Linked DNA regions of Homo sapiens: regions 1, 3 and 4 are each linked to region 2. The links are contacts of gene promoters, found by promoter capture Hi-C in blood cells and fetal thymus (Javierre and others, 2016). All regions are on one chromosome and are shown on one strand. Each heading gives the region's core, a stretch centred on a gene start or on the middle of the fragment in contact. The rest is flanking DNA. Distances are from core to core; before and after follow the strand shown. Region 1 overlaps ACO1 (aconitase 1). Region 2 holds the start of NDUFB6 (NADH:ubiquinone oxidoreductase subunit B6). Region 3 overlaps ACO1 (aconitase 1). Region 4 overlaps ACO1 (aconitase 1).

Evidence for each region. The method cuts DNA at HindIII sites, captures the fragments that hold promoters and counts their contacts. A CHiCAGO score of 5 or more calls a contact.
Region 1: a fragment that was not itself captured here is called in contact with the fragment with the promoter of NDUFB6 in region 2 in 9 of 17 cell types (megakaryocytes, M2 macrophages, M1 macrophages and 6 more); the score reaches 8.8 in megakaryocytes.
Region 3: a contact is called between a fragment that was not itself captured here and the fragment with the promoter of NDUFB6 in region 2, in 5 of 17 cell types (non-activated CD4 T cells, erythroblasts, M2 macrophages and 2 more). The highest score is 6.2, in non-activated CD4 T cells.
Region 4: a contact is called between a fragment that was not itself captured here and the fragment with the promoter of NDUFB6 in region 2, in 13 of 17 cell types (neutrophils, naive CD4 T cells, naive B cells and 10 more). The highest score is 11.5, in neutrophils.

What each region holds. Positions count from the first base shown.
Region 1 is chr9:32,440,847-32,443,546 of GRCh38, forward strand. The region is part of intron 19 of ACO1 (aconitase 1); the gene reads left to right. Among named protein-coding and RNA genes, the nearest start is that of ACO1, 58 kb to the left of the region's middle. The HindIII fragment of the contact is 582 bases long and covers 1,119-1,700 here.
Region 2 is chr9:32,571,678-32,574,530 of GRCh38, forward strand. NDUFB6 (NADH:ubiquinone oxidoreductase subunit B6) reads right to left here and starts at 1,482. Exons shown (of 4, transcript NM_002493.5): 1 at 1,204-1,482. The coding sequence starts at 1,383. RefSeq lists enhancers at 1,030-1,569, 1,840-1,889. The HindIII fragment of the contact is 6,496 bases long and covers 342-2,853 here.
Region 3 is chr9:32,420,335-32,423,280 of GRCh38, forward strand. ACO1 (aconitase 1) reads left to right here. Exons shown (of 21, transcript NM_002197.3): 8 at 522-693. Among named protein-coding and RNA genes, the nearest start is that of ACO1, 37 kb to the left of the region's middle. The HindIII fragment of the contact is 5,989 bases long and covers 1-2,946 here.
Region 4 is chr9:32,399,623-32,402,577 of GRCh38, forward strand. The region is part of intron 1 of ACO1 (aconitase 1); the gene reads left to right. Among named protein-coding and RNA genes, the nearest start is that of ACO1, 16 kb to the left of the region's middle. The HindIII fragment of the contact is 7,739 bases long and covers 1-2,955 here.

The sequences.
Region 1 (2,700 bases), core at 160-2,659, 130 kb before region 2:
TCTGTGAAGTCTCTGAAAACATATCCAGAAGTATACATGTATGTCTTTCATGGGGAGAGGTGTCATGGCTTTTATAACATTCTCAGAGGCTGAGGACCCCAAATTTATTCAGGTCCCTTGTTCCAGGTGAATGTCAGGAATAAGCCAGGGCCATTGTATTATCTGTCAGTTTCACAGAAGAGAAAAGGAGCCTGGACTTTTTCAGGAGTTACTTTGGCAAGAATGGGTTCTAAGTCTCCTGGAAAATTGGGAGAATCACTTTTTATAATTGCACTTCACTGCCTATGAATATCTGCTTATGGGCTCTCGATGAGAGTGAAACTCACTCTGCACATACCCAGGCAGCTCTTTAGAACCTTCCGCCATCTCGGGGCTCTACCTCTTGAGGTGTCCCCATAGAAGGGGCCATGCAGGGAGCAGAGAGCTTTTGCCTCTTGAGCATTTGCTTGCCCTAAAAGCAGAGAAGAATCATGCCACCCAGCCTGAATCTTCAGGGTGGGGTACACATGGCTTACCTGATGTCAATTTAAATCATTTGTGGCTCGCAAATTAATGCACCTCGGAAACACTAAGTTCATATCCACAAGTACAGTAAAAAAATGTGGCTGTCTGGCAGGCAGTTCTCCAGACATTTAGGCTTCTGATAATGTCTTTGAACATCACACCTATTATTTTAATTGGTTATTTTGCTCTGAGGAAAATAGAAATGTTCTCTGATTAGTTGATAGTAGGTCAAAGGCCTGTCTTTTCTGGAAACTATTGAAAAGAACCAGATAATTGCAGAAGAAAAGGATTTTAGGAAGGGGGTTGGGAGCTGTAGCCAAAATGCAACCCAGGCAGTCAGCACTCAGGTAGGGAACTCTAAGATCTGATAGAGGATAAGAAGAGAACTGGCCCCCAGGGGTTCTCTAGAGTCCAGACTTTTCTATAGAACCGCTTGAGTTCTGGCTGCCCAGGAAGCCATACAGTCTTCTGTTCTGTAGCTGTCCAGGCTGGGCCACGTAGCCGTGCTGGACTGTACTTACAGAGAGCAGTGGACAGCTATGATTTACAGCTTCTGAAGCAAAGCAGCATGGCCTTTACACAGAGCTAGTGACATGAATAGGGTGTGTTTAGAAAGCTTTCTACCTCCCTAGAATACATCCATCTATCCCTAAAACCCTAGAAAAGATCTACCGCCCCAAAGAATCTGCCCTCTCTCTGTAGCAGTGCGTCTCAAGTTTGGAAACACTTATGGGATTTTTTTTTTTTAATACTTTAATACCTGTGTTTGGATCTCATCTCCAGAGATTCTGGTTTAATTGGTAAGGAGAAAGGCCTGGACATTGGGATTTTAAAAGCCTCCCCTGCTGATTCTGGTATGCAGCAGTGGTTGAGAACCATTGCGCTATAGTTCACGGTTCTCAAAATTGTAAGAATCACTAGCCCCCTCCCACCCCACGCTCCCTGCAAGACATTCTGATGCAGCAGATCTGGGGTAGTACGCAAGTATCTATGTTTTCAACAAGCTCCTAAAGTGACCCTGGTGTTGGGCATCTTAAAAGTGTGCCCTAGATACCAAGAGACCTCTTAGGGTATTTTAATATTATATGACAGTTATTAATTATTAATAATAAACTAATGGGGAGTTCTAGTTAATGGAGTACCATCCTTTATTGCTGTATATTGCCAATTATAGATTCCCAATAAAACATACTTTAAGCTTAATATCAAGACTATATTCAACACAATTTCATCTTTGAAGCAGGAAGTGTAAAAGCAGTACACAAGAGGTAATCATTTACTTTATCTGTGGTATGTTCTGAAAGTTGCTTTTTTGATTGAACTTTCTGTGCCTGCTGATACACCTAAAATAGTAGAAAAAAATCAAGGGAAAAATTTTATGTTGTTTTGTGATGTGGATTCCAGATACAATGTAACTTTGCTAAAACATGTTATATCATTTGTCAGACTTCATGGGTCCAATTACCAGATACCAGCACTGACTCCCTGGGTAAAGGGGGACAATAAGGGCATCTACATCCCCGGGTTAGTGGATGGTGGAATGAGAGGAATTATTTAAGTGCTTACATAGTGCCTCTACATTATGAGCAATCAGTGAAGACTAGCTATTGTGTTATTTATCACTAGAGGATAACATTTTATGTAAAATATTAATATGTACTTACAAATAATTTAGGTGTGAGAACAGTTCTAACTTACAAAGTCTTTTGTTTATTTTTGTTTTTTTAACAATCACCGGCTCAAGAAGCTTATAATTTGGGGTAGGGCACAGACCAGTAAATAGACAATTACAAAGCAATATAACAGAAGAAAGCACGGTGTTATGAGGCAAAAATAAGGACCACTAACTGAAAATTTATTAAGCCATTTTCTGTCATCCTAGATGTATTCAAGATGTAATTCCCTTAGAGTACAAAGTTAATGTAAAAAAAACGCTTCATTGTGACCTTCAGTCTAGAAGATGTATGGCAAAATTAGGCTGAAGCATCTTTTTCTCCTGTGACATTAGACATCTGATTTCACTGAAATATAGCACACAATTACTGGAAATGAGGGCCTATAAAAGTCCACAAAACCAAGTGACTTTTCAAGATATAACAGAGGTAAAAGGTTACTGTCATCACTGTCTATGAATCATCTCATTATCGATATTCTAGACTTTGAAGTAAAATAATAAAAAGTTTACTTAAAGCAACA
Region 2 (2,853 bases), core at 232-2,731:
AAGAATTATAACAGATATGATTATAAAAGAATAAATTAAAGTAAGGTAAGGTGAACTTCGACACATTATTATTTATTTACTTCCTTATATCACTTGCTGATGGATGGGATGTCAACTTTAAATCAGTGACTGCCAATATTCCGATAATGTCAGGGATACAAAGGGTGGGAGAAGAGTTGAATTTTACCACCATAAATAAGTATCCAATATCACTTTCTCAGAAAAATTTTCAACAATTCTATTGCACTAGACTTTGTAGCACAGTAAGAATCAGATACATGTTGATTACAATATGAACTCATATTCAATTCCTAGCTCCCTGACCACCAGCAAATCACTGAAGCTTTGTAGGCCTCAGTTTCTTCACATTTAAAATGAGGATTAGGAATATCTACCTTACAGGAATAAAGAAATGAAGTAACACATGTAAAACCCCCAGTAGAGTGCCAAGCACACAGCAAGCACCCGTGTGTTACGTAGTATTGTTACTACTATTATCCTGTCATCAGTAAGTGTTGCAGGTAACTGAAAGCAATTCTGAGATGTTTATCATCCATAACAGTCCTCAAGAAAATACCCAGAGGCCTTGAAAATAAAGTTCTTGAATGAGTGATTTTCTTCAAAGCCCAAAATGCGATTTTTTTAATGAAACACTGTGTTAAAAGTACAGAACGGTAGTTTAGAAAGGTAGCTCTTGAATGTGACTCACAAGGCATACCAACAGGACCCTGTCTTTTACGGGGATCACATGGGGCTGTACTATCAGCTAGGGGCTGGCTGTGCCCTCTGGTGGTTGGATACTGTGTTACTTGGTCTCTAGAACCTCACACTTAAAAGTCAGACAAGTGTCCTCAAATACTTAAATCACAGAATTTTAATTCTAGCGAGTCCTTGGTTATTATTCTGAGGGAAGATTTCTACAGTCAAAAGAGAACCAAACGTGCAGCGTCCTGGAAAACCTAAGTATTAAAATTCGCCCCCGTCCACTGTACTTGACAGTAAAAGGCATGATTCTCTCAAAGCCATACATATTCCTGGACTCCTGCCTCCCGAGACTCCAGGAGGACTCTCGGGACTGGCCAGTGTCCCAGAGCACTGAGCGTTATCAGTCCTTGGTGTGGCTGCAGGGAGCGGACGTTCAGTGTTCAGGCTGCCGGCAGCAGTGGGATGTGTTGGGGGGGACCGGAGAGGTCTGTCACTCACCATTTTCCTCCAAGGGGATTTATTCTCCAAAAATTTATTCCAGAATTTCTCCATAGGCCCCATCTTCTGTGGGGGCAGCACCGGCTCCCGAGGGCTCAGCTCCTGGTCCTTCAGCCATCGCCTTCTCAGCTCTCGCAGCTGCTGCAGCCGCAGTTTCTCATCCGGAGTGTACCCCGTCATGTCGCCGCTGGTACCAACGCAAAAGGACACGGCGCACCCTCGAACTACGGACTAGTTACTTAAGCGCGCTCCCGCTCTGCAAAGCGACCTTGCGGGAACGCCGAGCGCCGCGCGCGGTTATTACGTCACATCCTGGTTCCGCCTCTGCAAGGGCCCCAGATTCCTCGCGAGGAAAGCAGTGTGTGGGCATGCACAAAGGTCTCCACCTCCAGTTCTCTCTACGCCCACCTCCGCTATACCCGACCAAATTAGGACCGGGTGGGGACAAGGAGTACTCGTAGTTGTGGGGCCTGAGGAAAGTGACAGATTAGACGAAAGTATGCTAAATTAGAGGACTGGAGGTTTTGCTAAGGAAGAACTTGTATGCTGGGAGGAGGAAGGATAAGCATAAATGTTTCAGTGAATATGCTGGCCAGATTCAAAATTATTTGCTTGCCTCTCCCACCTTGGAATGACCTAGAGAGTGTATGAAAATAGTTACATCCCAGTTCAAATCCCAGCTATGCCAGTAACTGCTGAAGTGCCCTGGGCAGCTGTCTCATCTGTCCCTCCATCTGTACAGGAATAGTGAAAAGAGTAGCTTAATATCTAGCAAAATTGCATAGATGAATTCATGCTTTCACCCAAAAATACGTGTGGTGAAAATATGAAAGAGCATGCACGACTATTCAGCACGATTCATAATACCAAAATATTGGAAATTACCCCCAAATTCCTAAATAAAGGACTGCTTGAATAAATTGTAGTACAACAGTCAAAAGACAGCATTACAACGAATTAGTTTAAAAATCTTAATTGACTCTTATTCGTGATTCTAGAATCAAAAAACACCTCATTCTATAAAGTAGAATGAGTGTTCTGATCAGCTGAGCAGAGGCGGTTGGTTTTATTGGCAAATAGGGGCTGAAGAAAGCAGAAACCGAACAAAAAGTGGACTCATCGTTTCAAAGTTACTTTTAGGGTTAAAGCAGAAGAAACTTCCTTGTTTCACTGACTCAGACTTAAGGGAATTTCCTATTTTTTGGGAAACTGGCCCATTTCAAAGTTCAGTTTGATTGTGTGGTACTTAGCACAAACGACTCCATTCTGGTTTGGTCTGGTCTGCTGGGGCCTAGTGCGTGAAGCTAGTCCAAAACAGTGGCTTCCCAAAAACTTTCACACAACAAAGCAATGAAATGCTAATACAATCGTCAAAAGTAATAAGGAAGAACTCTATATACATCTGTGGTGTGATCTCCAGAATACATTACAAAGTGGAAAAAAAATGGATAGGAATTTGTACAGTATGCTTTTACCCAAAAAGAGAAAGATGGTGGTAATTTCAATATATATACATATTTTCTTAAATTTTCAAAATAATGGGAATGAAAACAATTGAGGTTTTTAAAGATGCTACCTATGGTGGAGGAAATAAATAGGATAGAGGAGACAGGGATAGAATCTAGACATCTCTGGAAACATCTTACTTCA
Region 3 (2,946 bases), core at 193-2,692, 150 kb before region 2:
TAGCACTTCCAGACGCTTCCAATGATCTCATTAGAGAAAGAGAATGTTTCTCATCTTGAAATATTTTTCTTAATATCATTTGTATTTTGGGCACACTTTGTCTTTCTTTTTATAAATAAAAACTATTTGACATCATCTTAGATTTATGGGAGAGTTAGTATAAAGAGTACAGAGAATTCCTGTTATCTTTCTCCCAGCTTCCCATAATGTTAACATCTTAAATAACCATGGCACATTTATCGAAACTAAGAAGTTAACATTGGTGTGGTACTCTTAACTACAGACTTTACCAGTTTTTTCAGTAATGTCCCAGAATTCTGCTCCAGAATCCAATCCAGGATACCATGTTGCATTTAGTTGGCATTGTTTTTTAAGTTTTGAAAGTGATCACAAATGTGTTGGGCTGATTTACTATTTGGGTTTACTGACAAGACTAGTTTATAAGAAGTGCAAGATGGTAGTTCTGCATTTTGAATGTGGGCCATCAGATCTCAAACTTTTCTGTTGTTTCTGCTGCTTAGCACCTCCGCCAGGTTGGGGTAGTGGGCAAATTTGTCGAGTTCTTCGGGCCTGGAGTAGCCCAGTTGTCCATTGCTGACCGAGCTACGATTGCTAACATGTGTCCAGAGTACGGAGCAACTGCTGCCTTTTTCCCAGTTGATGAAGTTAGTATCACGTACCTGGTGCAAACAGGTAAGTGAAGGGCCCTGAAAGCATCGGGCTTTTTGTAAAAGTTCCATGAAACACCAAGAATCTGAGCACTGCCTTCTGCCTCTACCCAACAGAAGGCACTGGGTTACAGTTACACAATTATTTTTTTCTCCATGGAGTCAAAATGGGTTTTTGGGATTTAAGGAGTTAATATGAGATAGAGATGGTATGGCCAATAGAAAGAGCTCAGAGATTACAGAAGCCTGGATATTTATACTGGTCCTCTACTACTAGTTTTTTGACATTAAACAAGTGATCTTAGTAATGGTTACTGCTGCCTATGGGGTACTTGCTGTGTACCAGGTACCTAGTATGTATTTGCTGTCAACCTCTTTACAGATCTGTAGGGTAGATTGATTGACTAGTTAATTAACATTAGAGAAAACTGAGGAGCAGAGAAGTGTTCATACCCAAGGCTAATAAACAGCAGAGTCAGAATCCAACCCTGCAACTGCCTGGCCCCATACAGGAACAGCACTCTGCAACACCCCTCTCAGGGATGTCTAAAAAATGAAATGAGTCCAGGCATGGTGGCTCACTCCTGTAATCCCACCACTTTCAGAGGCCAAGGCAGGCAGATCTGACCTGAGGTCAGGAGTTCGAGACCAGCCTGGCCAACATGGCGAAACTCCCAGGAGGTGGAGGTTATGGTGGGCCGATCTCGCACCACTGCGCTCCAGCCTAGCCAACAGAGAGACTGTCTCAAAAAAAAGAAAAAAGAAAAGAAATGAGAGTGTGATGTGATAATGAGAAAGAAAGGGGAGGTGGCTGAAGTACCCCAGAGGTGCTTGCACAGATCTCTGGATGAAGTGAAGGGACAGCCATGGGAAGGGTTTCATGAGAATCTTACAGACTCCAAATAAATCTTAGTCTTCTGCTGTAGCCTGAGGAAATTCCTCTAGAAATAGTAAAGATTGTCATGAAAAAGTTTATTTAAAGAAGTTTTTATTAAATATAAACACATTGAAATTGATTAATACATCTTTGTTCTCCCAAAGGATTTTAAGTGAAAAAGATAACTAAAAGAACAGAATAAATAATTGAGGGAATCAACCTAAAGAAAGAGAGGGATAGTGTGCTGGGTAGAGGGATAAAAGCTGTGAGATGGATCTAGAGGGAAGGTTAGTTGGTTAGTTCCCGTGGTGCTGCAGGTGGCCATTATACTTCTTGGTAATCCAGTGCCAAATTTGTAACATCTATTAAATTGAAACAAACATATTGCTTCAGAATAGTGTAGCCCTTTCTCATAGTAAACCCTAAGAAAGATTTCTCCTGTTCATCTTCATGAAGAGCATGGCATGGGTTGTAGTGAACAGCGGGCTCAACAACAGGTCAGGACAAATACATTAGTGAAGCTCATACAGCTGTCTTTTATGAGGTCTGTGCTGAGAGCTAATGACGTTTACAGTTCAGCTAAAACAAATAGACAAACAAAAGTTCTGATCAGTGGTAGGATCAGCCAAAGGATCAAACCTTCTGTTTCTAACCATCAGAGAAATTGTGGACTGCATGTCCGTTGGGCATACTTCATGAGTATTATCTCCTACCCCGGGATCTTGATAAAAGTTAAATAGCAGAGGGTTCAAGGTCATATTCCTGGTGATGCAGCATCGTGAGTTAAGACTTTGAACTTTTGGGTCAAGCTCTGGTTTGGATTTTGGTTCTACCGTTTACTGGCTGTGTTACATGAGAAAGTTACTTAGTCTTCTTGAGCCGCCATTTCCTTATCCATAAATGAGAATAATAATTGTACTTGTATCTTAAGACTATGATAAAGGATTAGAGATTGAGGTAATACATTTAAAATGTTTAGGACACAGTGCCCAGAAAGTGCTCAGTAGCCAGTGGTTTCAGGTGGGGTTGGGATGCGTTTTAATTTTAACGGTAATCATGTGGAATGCTGAATCTTTGTGGCCAGTTGAAGGCAAATGCATAGGTGTGCTTTCACAATTAGCTCAGGTGTAAGATTCTCCTAATTAAAGGCTATACCCCAAAAGAGGCGGGTTATCTATAGATAGAACCAGAATCTTTTTCAGAAAACAGTCACTTTGATAGGAACAGCACATTCATTAATGGCCCCTAATAAAAAGCAGCATCAGTGGGAGAGTCAAACCATTAGCCTGGAAGCCTAAAAATTGACAGAGCTGTTGGTGTGTGTGTAAGTGCAGCGTATGTTGCGTACTTACATAATTGCTAATGGAAGTATCAGTTTATAAACTTCAACCAGGAAATACT
Region 4 (2,955 bases), core at 106-2,605, 170 kb before region 2:
AATGCTAGTACTTGGAAACAACCTAAGTATTTTAATAATAGGGAAATTGTTATATATCTGAAGGATAGATTTTTATGGTATAGTTTAAAGTGCTGTAAAATATCACACGATTGTCCTATTAAGATATTTGAGGTTTATTGTTGAGTGAAAAAAAGCAATTAGCAAAACAATGTGAGGTCTAGTGATTTTTTTTTTTTGAAAAATTCAAATGCGTTTAAAAGTCATGGTAAATGAAACTGTAAATCATGGTATTACAAAGGATTTTATTTTGTTCTTTTTGCTCACCTGCATTTTCTGTTGTTGCTACAGTGAGCATCTATTTCTTTTATTTTTTTCTTTTTCTGTTTTTTTTTTTTTTTTTTTTTTGCGATGGAGTCTCGCTGTGTCACCCAGGCTGGAGTGCAATGGCACGATCTTGGTTCACTGCACCCTCCGCCTGCTGGGTTCAAATAATTCTCCTTCCTCAGCCTCCTGAGTAGCTGGGACTCCAGGTGTGTGCCACCATGCCCGGCTAATTTTTGTACTTTTAGTAGAGATAGGGTTTCACCACCTTGGCCAGGCTGGTCTCAAACTCCTGACCTGAGGTGATCCGCCCATCTCGACCTCCTAAAGTGCTGGGATTACAGGTGTAAGCCACTGCGCCTGGCTGTATCTATTCCTTAGTGTAATATTTTTTAAAGTTACCACCACCCAAGAAGATGTGGTTCAGTAACAAATTTGGTATCCTGCTGAGATTGGAAAGGGAGCTGGGGATGGGGTGGGAAGGGAGGGCCCCCCTTGGATTAGTGTGTTTGACTTGAATGAGGTGTGGCACTGTTCATCTAAGGCTAAATTTGAGCCATTCAGGGATTCTCTTCACAGCTCTTTCTCTCTGTTGGTGAATATCAAAGGACATATTGAGGGGAGCAAAGTGGACTTTATCTGGAGTTATAGTCACAAATTTAAATACATCTTCACCAGTCATTATTAAAGAAAGATCTGCATTTGTAGTTCCAGGAACTTTACGGACCATTCTATCTTTCTTTCAAAGGGTATTGCTGAAGATGTCAAGTTCTCATTTTATAGAGATGCTAATGTAGGTATTTATGTACAAAGTTTAAATGACCGCTCCAGTGTTTTAAGAAGTAAGTAGTAAATGAATGCATGCTTATCAAAAATAGAATTTGAATAATACAGGAGTATGAAACATAGAAAGCTAAAGTCTCCCCTTTATACAATGTGTTATTCTATTTGTAATCCATGTTAACTTTATGTCTTTCTTTTTTGTGCATTTGCATATGCAATGGTGTGTGTGTATGAATGAATATACACTAATGGTCTTGAAGTTTTTTTTTTTTTTCACTTAAATCAGATCCTAGTATATACATATATATATTATTTTGCAACTTTAAAATTCTCATATCATTTAATGTGAGCCTTTACTAACATTTTGTATCTTGAATCTGAGTAAGGGATTGTATACGCAATATTATATCAGGAAAATTGATTTGCCCTTACTGTGGCTTTTGGAAAAAAGTGGCACCCAGGGCAGATCATCAGAAACCTAAATTTAAGTTGTTTTTCCAAAGTTTAGCTGTCAGTTCTCTGGAATTCTGAAACACATGGAAGTTTTAGTAAGTGATTATAGAACTAACATCACAGAAGCACCAAAAGACTGTGATACACCTAGGTAGTACTTTTTTCAACTCTACCTGTGAAAGATTTTAAGGGTTTTTTTTTTCCCCCTGAGGGAAATTTGCATTTCACTGGAGGGCAAATCAGCTGTATTTTTTTTTTTTTCTGGTTATCCCACTAATGAGTCCTGTGACCCTAGGCAGTCAGTTGCTTTTCAGGGCCTCTCTGTCTTCCTCTGGGGAATGCTACATGATTGCTAAGGTTCTTTACTAAAAACTCAACATTCTATGTCTCATTACCTCCTTAGCACCTAAGGTCAAGGTGTCCCTAGGGAATGGTGACAGGTTGGTGCCATGCCTTAGTGCCATGCTATGTATGCACAAAAGGTGCTACTCCAAGGCACCTGCAAGTGTCCTCAATTGAGCCAAAGGTCAGTTGGTAGCAAGACTGTGGTTGGGGAAAAACCCTAGCTCTTCACTCCTCCCACCCTTTTACTGGGAGCATGGCTCATTTGTTAAATGTCTTACCCTAGTTCTGCCTGCCTTTGCATAATATTTGTTATTTTTTAGTGACCTACTTTAAAAATCTGGTGTTCAGACTGTCCATGCCCACCCCCGTTCTTGCATGCAGAGTGTACCTGTGCTAATCATAACCCTGTACAAGTCACCCAGCTAGTATTTCAGGATGGGTTAGCTTTGAAAGACACTGTTTCTCTACCAAATAATTATCTTGACTTTCAGAATGTGAACTACATGTAATGAAGGGTTTCAGATACAGTAGCTCCGTTTTTATTCCTTTTGTTTAAGAACTGTTCATCTGTCTTCCTTGATTCAGTGGCCAGGGACAAGTGTTCAGCTGTCTTCATCATTCTGACAAGCGTCCCGGAGGGACAAGTTCTGAATAATTGCTCCCACCTTGTACCTTAAAAGATACCATTTCCCATTCCTTCCTTCTTTTTTTTTTCTTTTTTCTTCTCCTCTTTTCTCTTCTTGCCACCATGTAGTATCATCTCATTCTATAGAACAAAGAAAGCAGCAACCCCAAATAGTGTGATATATGCTAACTCTTCCCTCTTTCAAAAAAGAAAAACACCATATATATTTAGATACTCTGCCATCTCCAAAATGTCCACATTCATTGTCTTCGTTTGTTCATTCCTATCTTTTATTGTTGAATGAAGATCAGATAAAACAGAAAAGAGCCAAGAACAAAGTAGCAGGAGGAGAGAGTGGGAGATAAGAAAGGAATTGAAACAGTGGGACCTGTGCTTTATGTGGATGTGGGACATAGGGAGGGCTTCCTGGCCAATGGTGGGGTTCCTAGATGAAACCCCAGATCTTG